Regions from separate parts of the Homo sapiens genome. Here regions 2 and 3 are each linked to region 1. The links are contacts of gene promoters, found by promoter capture Hi-C in blood cells and fetal thymus (Javierre and others, 2016). All regions are on one chromosome and are shown on one strand. The core of a region is centred on a gene start or on the middle of the fragment in contact, and the rest is flanking DNA. Distances in the headings are between cores, read along the strand shown.

The links. Contacts are between HindIII fragments. The CHiCAGO score rates a contact against its expected background, and 5 or more counts as called.
Region 2: a contact is called between a fragment that was not itself captured here and the fragment with the promoter of RPS6 in region 1, in 9 of 17 cell types (total CD8 T cells, non-activated CD4 T cells, erythroblasts and 6 more). The highest score is 11.0, in total CD8 T cells.
Region 3: a contact is called between a fragment that was not itself captured here and the fragment with the promoter of RPS6 in region 1, in 15 of 17 cell types (erythroblasts, activated CD4 T cells, fetal thymus and 12 more). The highest score is 13.5, in erythroblasts.

What each region holds. Positions count from the first base shown.
Region 1 is chr9:19,378,565-19,382,085 of GRCh38, reverse strand. It overlaps RPS6 (ribosomal protein S6), which reads left to right and starts at 1,850. Exons shown (of 6, transcript NM_001010.3): 1 at 1,850-1,896; 2 at 2,468-2,599; 3 at 3,168-3,378. The coding sequence starts at 1,891. RefSeq lists an enhancer at 1,336-2,535. The HindIII fragment of the contact is 12,269 bases long and covers 1-3,521 here.
Region 2 is chr9:19,082,760-19,086,431 of GRCh38, reverse strand. HAUS6 (HAUS augmin like complex subunit 6) reads left to right here. Exons shown (of 17, transcript NM_017645.5): 8 at 3,389-3,559. Among named protein-coding and RNA genes, the nearest start is that of HAUS6, 18 kb to the left of the region's middle. The HindIII fragment of the contact is 3,053 bases long and covers 532-3,584 here.
Region 3 is chr9:19,063,195-19,066,709 of GRCh38, reverse strand. It overlaps HAUS6 (HAUS augmin like complex subunit 6), which reads left to right. Exons shown (of 17, transcript NM_017645.5): 13 at 3,130-3,196. It also overlaps SCARNA8. Among named protein-coding and RNA genes, the nearest start is that of RRAGA, 16 kb to the right of the region's middle. The HindIII fragment of the contact is 222 bases long and covers 1,920-2,141 here.

The DNA.
Region 1 (3,521 bases), core at 601-3,100:
ACTGGTGTGAGCCACTGCATTTGGCCACCCTAAAATATTTTTAAAAGGAAAAACAAACAAAAAAAACTAGCCCATAGTTCTAGACTTTCTCTTTGCCTCACATTAATTTACTCCCACTACTTCAATAAAAATAACAGGGGGAGCTAAGAGCTTGTACAGACTTTTCTCTAAAGAAGATATACAAATGGCCAACAAACACATTAAAACATGCTCAACATCATTAGTCATTAGGGAAATGCAAATCAAAACCACAATGAGTCTCAGCTACTCCAGAGGCTGAGACAGGAGGATGCTGGAGGCCAAGAGTTCCAGACCAACAGGATCTCACTTTGAGCAACAAAGCGAGACCCTGTCCCTACAATAAATTTTTAAAAAATTAAAAAAATAACAAGTGTTGGCCATGATTTTGATAAAGTGCGGTCCTCATACATTGCCGGTGGGAATGTAAAATGGTTCAGCTGCTTTGGAATACAGTTTCAGTTTCTCCCTGAGTTGAGAATAGAACTACTATATGACCCAGCAATTTCACTCTTAGGTATATACCTAAAATAATTTAAAACAAGTACTCAAACATAGAAGAACTATTTACAGTAGTTAAAAGGCAGAAACAACCCAAATGTCTATTTATGGAGGAATGGATAAACAAACTGCAGTCTATATCTACACTAGAATATTGAGCCATAAAAGCAGTGAAGTACTGATACATGCTACGACTCAAAAGATTAGAAGACAGATACAAAAGGTCAATATTGTATGATTCCATTTTTATGAAGTAGGTACATCCACTGAGACAGAACACAGATTGGTGGTTGCCAGGCCTGGTCGAAATGGGGAAGGGGCAGCAACTGCTTTAACAGGGTACAGGGTTTTCTTTTAGGATGATGAAAATGTTTTGGAACTGTATCGATAGAGATGGTGGTTGTACAGCATTGTGAATGTACTAAATGCCACTGAATTGTTCACTTTAAAATGACTAGTTATGTCAATTTCACCTCAACAAAAAAATGACACACAGTACTCAGATTTTAAAAAGCATCATTTCACCAAGATTCCATGAATTAATGTGAGATGATCAAAGAGGATTCAGTAGAATCGTTCAACTTCGAATGTAAAACAGTCCTAAACTCAAACCTTTGTGACACTAAAGTGGGGAGATGGTATGTGATAGTTTTAGATAGTAAAAATTATTCTTGTTTACTTGGTCTCGAACTCGAACTTTTTTGAGGCGGAGTCTCTCTCTGTCGCCTGGGCTGCAGTGCAGTGGTGCGATCTGGACTCATTGCAACCTCCGCCTCTTGGGCTCAAGCGATTGTCGTGCCTCAGCCTCCCTAGTAACTGGGACTACAGTCGCCCCCCACCACGCCTGGCTATTTTACCTATTTTTGGCTATTTTACCTATTTTTATTAGAGACGGAGTTTCGCCATGTTGGCCAGGCTGGTCTCGAACTCCTGACCTAAGATGATCCGCCCGCCTCGGCCTCCCAAAGTGCTGGGATTACAGGCGTGAGCCACCGCGCCCGGCCTTGCCCTCCTATTTTGGTACCGTCAGATGCAAAGTGCCTGGGACAGAAGTGGGGCTCCGCTGGCGCCCAGCTCCAAAACCCAGGCAGCGTGGAAAAGACTAGACAGGGAAGGGGTTAGCCCTCAGAATTACACGCGGGTTTGCCTTACCAGACTACCACCACTGGCACAACCTCAGACCCACACCCAACCGACTTTACCTCCCAGGCCCTGATTAATCTCGCCCGGAAGTACCGCCCACCCATGCTCACTTCCGCTATCCCGTACTTCTGCTCATCTCGCGAGAACTGAAAGCGCCTATGTGACCTGCGCTAAGCGGAAGTTGGCCCTCTTTTCCGTGGCGCCTCGGAGGCGTTCAGCTGCTTCAAGATGAAGGTAGGTGATGGTGGCGAGTGTTAGACTGGGTTTGGGGAACGTGAATCGAGTCCCAGAACGCGGCATTGCCTCAGTTCCAGCACTCCAGGATCCTGGCTTTAGGTGGAGAAGGGTCTCAAGTAGGAGAAGGCTCGCCTTTCTGGGGCATGGAGCTTTTTGGCCGAACGGATGGCAGGCGATTGCGGCTGGAGCCGCGGCGGGCCGGGAGCGCCATGGTGGCGTCCCCGCGCCCAGCCGGGACGGATGCGGCGTGTTGCCCAGTTTGCGGCAGGCCTGTGGTGCGGCTCTTGACCCCGGCTTTCTTGCTTCGGGAGGGTGAACGGCTGCGGAGTGCCCTCGCCCCCAGAGTCATTCCGCGGGGCTTGAGGGGAAAACGTCCTGCTGAGTGCGGCGCTTCTTGACTGCTACTCTGCTTTCACGTGCTTTTAGTGAGTACAGTCGGCATCTTATATTTCCTGCTTGTGTGGAGGCAACATGAAAGGCTTTTTGCAGTGGAATTAACTTTGTAGATGGCTCTACAATTACCTGTATAGATAGTTTCGTAAACTATTTCCCCCCTTTTAATCCTTAGCTGAACATCTCCTTCCCAGCCACTGGCTGCCAGAAACTCATTGAAGTGGACGATGAACGCAAACTTCGTACTTTCTATGAGAAGCGTATGGCCACAGAAGTTGCTGCTGACGCTCTGGGTGAAGAATGGAAGGTAAAAGTTGACAAATTGTTGCAGGTATTTAAGTCAGAGACGGTAAACGCCATTGGTAACTGGTATTTGGAATGGGGTTCAGACTCCGGGTTCTGGCTTCTGACCTTTGGTAAGTTGCTTCCGAATGCCACTTTATAAAGTTAGAGGTATTACCTTGGAGGGGGGGACGTAGAGTAAGCCATAAAATATACGTAAAGTTTACATCAACATAATTCTTGCCCTGCATCATGCATTTGGCAATATGTCACATAGCTGTCCTCATAATCCCCAAAGTGCCAAAAAGGGTTGTATCTGATTTGTTTGTTGCTGTTTGATATTTTATCTTCTTAGTGCTGTTATCTCTAATAAAACATCGGTTAGAAATGCGACTTGAAAGACATTTGATAATTGAACTTGACAAGTTGGGAATATAGACAAAACTCACTGAACAGAGAAAACGTGCTTAAGTTCAAATTGGTTTTCATAATTATACTTTCTCATATAGGTGTGTTCACAGAGGTCACAATCCTGTACTGTATAATTTTGGAATAGAAATAGTAAATGTGTCATTCATTGTATGCTCTTGCAGGGTTATGTGGTCCGAATCAGTGGTGGGAACGACAAACAAGGTTTCCCCATGAAGCAGGGTGTCTTGACCCATGGCCGTGTCCGCCTGCTACTGAGTAAGGGGCATTCCTGTTACAGACCAAGGAGAACTGGAGAAAGAAAGAGAAAATCAGTTCGTGGTTGCATTGTGGATGCAAATCTGAGCGTTCTCAACTTGGTTATTGTAAAAAAAGGTGAGGGTTACTTGTGTTCAATTTTCGTTGAAATTGATTTAAAGCCAGTTGTCCAAATGCTTATTCATTTGCAGTATCCAGACTTACAGACCAATGGATTTGTTTCTCTACCATCAATTCAACATTAAACATTCTGATTTAGG
Region 2 (3,672 bases), core at 809-3,308, 300 kb after region 1:
CCAGGCTGGTCTTGAACTCTTGAGCTCAGATGATCTGCATGCCTTGGCCTCCCAAAGTGCTGGGATTACAGGCATGAGCCACCGCGCCCAGCCTCCCTTCCCCTTCCCCCTCCCCTCCCCCTTTTGAGATGGAGTCTCACTCTCCCAGGCTGGAGTGCAGTGGCGTGGTCTCAGCTCACTGCAACCTCCACCTCCTGGGTTCAAGCAATTCTCCTGCCTCAGCCTCCCTAGTAGGTGGGATTACAGGTGTGTGCCAATATGTGCAGCTGATTTTTGTATTTTTGTAGAGATAGGGTTTCGCCATGTTGGCCAAGCTGGTCTTGAACTCCTGACCTCAGGTGATCTGCCCGCCTCAGTCTCCCAAAGTGCTGGGATTACAGGCATGAGCCACTGCGCCCGGTCCCCTTTCTTTTTATAGTACTATTACTTTTTTTTTTTTTAAAACTCATAGGTTGTATATATAAAGATATTGATAGAGTGCCTCTAAAACACTTGAATATAATGGAAAAATGAACTTATAGTTCATAAGCTTAATTATATTCAAAAGGGTTTTTAGACATGATTAATTTGAAATTCTCCACCCCAGTACAAAAAGCTCTGCTTGATTGTAGTATAACCTAGTCAGTGGTATTAATTTATCTAAATAAAATGGATTAACTGAAGGGAGATGTTAAGTATGAAAGGAAAATGAGGAATCAAAATGAGTCTGGTTTGGCAGGAGGGAGGATTCTGACAAATGAAAATGATCTGAGGCCTCCAGAGTTTGGCTTTGATGTGAGTTAAGTATTTTCTTAGGTTTTCTTTTTTTTTTTTTTTGGATAAAATCTCTCTCAAGCTCTTTGTTGTGATTCTGTGATTGCCATGCCAAGCTGCTGTGGGTATAAATTTGGCTTCCAAGGCACATTGTCACCTGTAAAGGTTAGCGCCCTCTTCAGGAAATATTTTTATTCAGTGAATGTATTGATCATCTGATATGTGCTAGGTATCTCGTAGACATTAGGGCTACAACAATGAGGAGAACAGGCAAGGCAAAGTCACTTCCTTCATGGAATTTTCCATTTAATGAATCTCTGATTGCAAATTATATAATTAAAATAATTTGCAGAACCTATTAAAGTTTTCACATCAGTCTCTTCTGAGTTTGGTTCATATTTGTTTTCCCTGAGTACAGTCAACTTTGAGCCATTGTCAAGATAAAAATCTAGACTTGGAAAATATGAGAACCAGATCCTGGACAATTACAGATTCATCAAGGAAATGCCATTCTGTGAGACCTCTAGACTGCTAGCCAATGAGTCTTCCTTTGGGAACAACTTTACCTTGCCATACAACATGTCAGAGATATTTAGGGTGGCACACACCTATAGTTTCACCTACTCAGGAGGCTGAGGCAGGAGGATTGTTTGAGCCCAGGAGCTCAAGGCTGCAGTGTGCTCTGGTTGTGCCAGTGGACTGTAGCCTGGGCAACAGAGCGAGACCCGTCTTAAAAAAGAAAAAAAAAAGAGGCGGGGGTACAGTGGCTCACGCCTGTGAGCACTTTGGGAGGCCGATATGGTTGGATCACTTGAGGCCAGGAGTTTGAGGCCAGCCTGGCCAACATGGTGAAACCCTGTCTCTACCAAAAATAAAAAAGTAGTCTGGTGTGGTGGTACTCACCTGTAGTCCCAGCTATTTGGGTGACTGAGGCACAAGAATCACTTGAACCTGGGAGGCAGAGGTTGCAGTGAGCCAAGATTGTGCCACTGCACTCCAGCCTGGGTGACAGAGTGAGACCTTGTTTCAAAAAAAAAAAAAAAGAAAAAAGAAAAAAAGTGAACTAATTAGAGATATTTAATATTGTATTTTTATCGTGCAGGAAGAACATGTGTATAATTATATTTCTCCACCTCCCTCCCTCTTTTGTAAATTCTGTTAATGCATAACATATATACAAGAAATGTGTAACTCATAAGTATATAGCTTGACAAATTTTCACAAAGTGAACAAGTCCATGTAACCATCATCATTTAAGGAATAGGATGTTACCAGCACCCTAGAATCCTCCTTGAACCTGTTTAGTTTACACTGTTTGCCCCCACGGGGAAACAGTGCCCTCACATGTTACACTAAAGATTAGTTTTGCCTGTTTTTGAACTTCATATAAATGCCAGTATATAGAATATATTCTTTTGTGTCTGACTTTGGCTCAACATTGTTTATGATATTTATCCATGCTGTTGTGTGTAATTGTAGTATGTTTATTCTCATTGCTGCTTAGTGTTCTATTTTATGAATATAGCACCAATGTACCCTTTTTACTCTGGATGGACCTTTGGATTGATTCTACTTTTTGATTGTTACAAATAGACATTCTATGAGTATTCTTTTTTTTTTTTTTTTTGCAAGGATCCTGGGCTTAAGGGATCCTTTTACCTCAGCCTTCTGAGTAGCTGGGATTACAGGTATGCGCCACTGTGCGTGCCTAAATATTCTTGTATATCAATTTTAATGAATATAGATTAGTATATGCCTAAGATTTTTTGCTTTTAATGAGGCATAATTTTTTACACTTTAACTTCCTCAAACTGAATGACTTAAAATTGAGATGTAGTAGTTTTTTTCTCTTGAAAAAAAATTTTTTTTTTTTTTTTGAGATGGAGTCTTGCTCTGTCCCCTAGGCTGGAGTGCAGTGGCGCGATCTTGGCTTACTGCAAGCTCCGCCTGCCGGGTTCACACCATTCTTCTGCCTCAGCCTCCCGAGTAGCTGGGATTACAGGCACCTGCCACCACGCCTGGCTAAGTTTTTGTATTTTTATTAGAGACGGGGTTTCACCGTGTTAGCCAGGATGGTCTCTATCTCCTGACCTCGTGATCTGCTTGCCTCGGCCTCCCAAAGGGCTGGGATTACAGACGTGAGCCACTGCGCCCGGCTTCTCTTGAAAAATTTTTAAAATTATTTCTCCCTGAATGATCTTCATTCGATTAATTACATGTCAGCATATAGAAAATGCTAATTGTATCTTGTATAAGATTTCTTAGATTTGGAGCTGGGTGCAGTGGTGCGTGCCTGTAGTCCCAGCTACTTGGGAGGCTGATGTGGGAAGATTGCTTGAGCCCAGGAGTTTGAGTCTGGCCTGGGCAACATAGTAAGACCCCATCTCTGAAAACAAAAAAATTCTTAGATTTGTTTGAAAATTATAGTGAGCTAGATTCTCCTGATACATTTTTTTAAAAATTCCCTTTGGAAATAATATCCAAAGGGACTTTTAAACTATTAAAGTATAATTATTTAATTTTCTTACTAGAAATCATTCTAGGAAATTTGTTACTAAGAGTGAACATACATTTACATTTTTAAAATATGTACAGATTATGTGTGGACTTTAATATTTTGTTTCTGTTTCCAAAGGTTCGGTCTTTGTGGGCTTCAGTGAATGAAACGCTCATGTTTTTGGAAAAAGAGAGAGAAGTTGTTAGTTCGGTCCTTAGTCTTGTTAACCAATATGCTTTAGATGGAACTAATGTTGCTATTAATATTCCAAGGCTCTTACTTGACAAAATTGAGAAACAAATGTTTCAGGTAAGCATTTGATATTAAGGAAGCTTTTGAGAAAACTCCTATCATGTAATTGTATATTTTCTTGCAATGTTCTTCTGCTTTCAGAATTTGTTTTTTGTTTTTTGTTTTTTGTT
Region 3 (3,515 bases), core at 781-3,280, 320 kb after region 1:
CATTTCTGGTTCTGATCAGAGCGAGAGGCTGCATTATACTTAAAACCAGAATTCAGCAATTGGTGATGCCTTTGCTGTACACTGTGAGCATTAGCATTCTTTGCAATGGCTTTTTGTGTTTGTGTGTGTGGGGGGGAGTTCCATGATATTTCTAACGGTAATGATGCTGTTGTTCTAGACATCTAACTTCTATGTTTTCTCCTATACCACATTTCAAAGATAAGGAGGGCAGTATGATCTTGCATACGTGCCAGCTAAATGTCATTTGTGTTAGAAATTGAATTCTAGTCTCATATCTTTCTCTTTTTATAGTTTCTATTTTTATTTTTCTCCTAATTATTGGTATAACAACAGCAACAAATAAAAATGAGAAATAATTGGTTAAAGTTTTTAAGGAATCACTTGTAACTCCCTCCCCCGCCCCGCCAAGTTCTTATCTAGGCTTTGTATACCACGATATATAAATTTAGCTCTAGCTGGGCATGGTGGCTCATGCCTGTAATCCCAGCACTTTGGGATGCTGAGGCAGGCAGATCACCTGAGGTCAGGAGTTTGAGAACAGCCTGGCCAACATGGTGAAACCCTGTCCCTATTAAAACTACAAAAATTAGCCAGGTGTGGTGGTCGGCACCTGTAATTCCAGCTACTCAGGAGGCTGGGGCAGGAGAAGTGCTTGAACCCAGGAGGCGGAGGTTGCAGTGAGCCAGGATCCCGCCACTGCACTCCAGTGTGGGCGACAGAGTGAGAGTCTGTCTCAAAAAAAAAAAAAAAAAATTTTTGGCTGTGATCAAAGGATGGATACAATCTAAATACAAATTTTAAAATGCAGAATTCTAAAGTACAAAATTTTATTCATTAATTTATTTTTGAGGCGGAGTTTCGTTCCTGTTGCCCAGGCTGGAGTGCAATGGCACGATCTCGGCTCACTGCAACTGCTGCCTCCTGGGTTCAAGCGATTCTCTTGCTTCAGCCTCCCGAGTAGCTGGGATTACAGGCGCCCATGACCACACCTGGCTAATTTTTGTATTTTTAGTAGATATGGGGTTTCATCATGTTGGCGAGGCTGGTCTTCAACTCCTGACCTCAGGTGATCCGCTTGCCTCAGCCTCCCAAAGTGGTGGGATTACAGGCGTGAGCCACCGCGCCCAGCCCAAAATTTTAAAACATTAACATAGTATAAACGGTTGTGATTTTTTTTTGGCTGTCTGTATGTTTAAATAACATATTAACCAATTTTCATTGATAATAGCTTTGTAACACTACATTTATTTGTAGACTTGAATTTTCTCTCAATTTTATTTTTTACTACTATAAAAAGTGTGTTCCTCTTTTTTCTCTCTGTTCTTCCCTTAGGATAAATTTCCACAAGGGGATCACCATCCTTCTGTTTTGTTACAGTGCTAGGATTTCATAGGCCTCAATCTTGGCATGGCAAATGGACGAAGTATAAAGACTGAGCCAGGGCTGCTTTAAACTTGTCTTAGATTATGATGTTAGCAGGTTTAATAGCATGTTGCCAGTTCAGAAATGAGAGAGGGGAGGGTACAGAATGTTTCCATTGTTCTCTGCTATAAGGTTCCACAAGAATCATTCAAATGGAAACACTTGTCACCTATAGAACCCCATTCTCAAGTGGCATTTACTCATCGATTCCATCAATCCATCAAATAGTTAACATGTATGTATTGCACTACCAACCACTGTGTTAGCCTCTGGGAATAGCCTTAGGGAAAGACATAGCCTTTGTCCTTACCTTCTTGTGGTGGTGGCACCTTAGTGGCATTGGTCCATAGATTGCTGGCTCTGTTTCAGGGGGCTTTTTGATAATTTTAATGTTAAGTTTCCCTCAAAATCTAGTAGATGATCAATTCTTTGCCTTTGATATCTGGATTATATTTTGTCAATGCTACGTTGAAGCTTGAGTGATTGCAGTGATTTTGAATTATGTTTGGAACGTAGGCAAAGACTCTAAGAGTGCATATTTGAAAAAGTTTGAAAATTACATTTACTATGATATAAAATATTTGCAGTGCTATTAATTTTGTACTTCTAGTTATAAGAAGAAAGGAAAGTACCAACATGCATGCTGTTGAAAGCAGTCTTTGATAATCCTGTCTTATAGTAACTAGAGTAGAAAAGCTTTAGGCTTTTAACTTTTAAAGGTTTTTAAGACCAAAGTAAAAAAGTTACCATTTCTTTGAAGATTTTAGAATTTAATAACATTTTATAATTAGCATGAAAAGCTGCATAAATTTTAATATTTATCCAAAAGGGCAAGGGAATACAAAAGATTAACAAATACAACAGAATGTGGCAAACTAAAACTCTGACCTTATGACATTACTGTGAAACTGTAACATGTTTGCTATAGAGTAAAATTTAGCATATGAGAAATTGATTTTGGATATGAAGTATCAAGAGAATCTTAAAAATAAGTCTGCTGGGCCAGGTGTGGTGGCTCACACCTGTAATCCTAGGACTTTGGGAGGCCAAGGTGGGCGGATCACCTGAGGTCGGGAGTTTGAGACCAGCCTGACTCACATGGAGAAAGCCCATCTCTACTAAAAAGACAAAATTACTCAGGTGTTGTGGCGCATGCCTGTAATTCCAGCTACTCAGGAGGCTGAGGCAGGAGAATCGCTTGAACCTGGGAGGCGGAGGTCGTGGTGAGCCAAGATCGCGCCATTGCACTCTAGCCTGGGCAACAAGAGCGAAACTCCGTCTCAAAAAAAAAAAAAATAAAATAAAGGATCTGCTACAAAGAAACTGTGATTTGGAACCTGTGACATTGTAATAATGCAGTTCTAGTTAATTGAATCTGTTTTTAACCTGTGTTCAAGTTGTGGAGTATTCATTAAGTCACTTAACTCTTTCAAATCAAAATATTGTTGACTCAGTATGTGGTAAGTAAAGTCTTCATAATTGGGAGGCTGATACACAAATTGGGCTGAAATACTGCTCTACTTGTCACCATGCCTCCCTAGAATAAACTGCCTTTTGATGACCGGGACGAATTGAGTGAAATCGTAACGGACAGATACGGGGCAGACAGATTTTAGAATAGACTCGTAAAGGGAATGGAATTCTTTTCTCCTTATAACTTGGATTTGTTGTCTTTTTTCCTTTTAGCCCTGCCTCTTTCTTGTCGCAGTCAGTTTCATCATCAGATAGAAACAGTGTTACAGTACTTGAAAAGGTATATTTTAAAATAAGTCTCAATTAATTCTGGACCATACTAAATTATAAAATATTATTTATTTTTGTTGATACCACAGTTAAATTTAATTTCTAATTTCACATTTTCTACTATTTGTACATTTTGTACCATATCTACTTATATTCCTTATTGCTAAGTGGGAATATTGGAATTAGTTAATTCTGCCAGTGACATACAATTTCACAATAGTATTAACAACCTTTTATAGGTTCATGATAACCAGTGAACTGCTAATGAAGACAGCTTCAGGATCAGCCATGATTATTAAGGGTTTAACATTACATATCTGTCTTCTTCA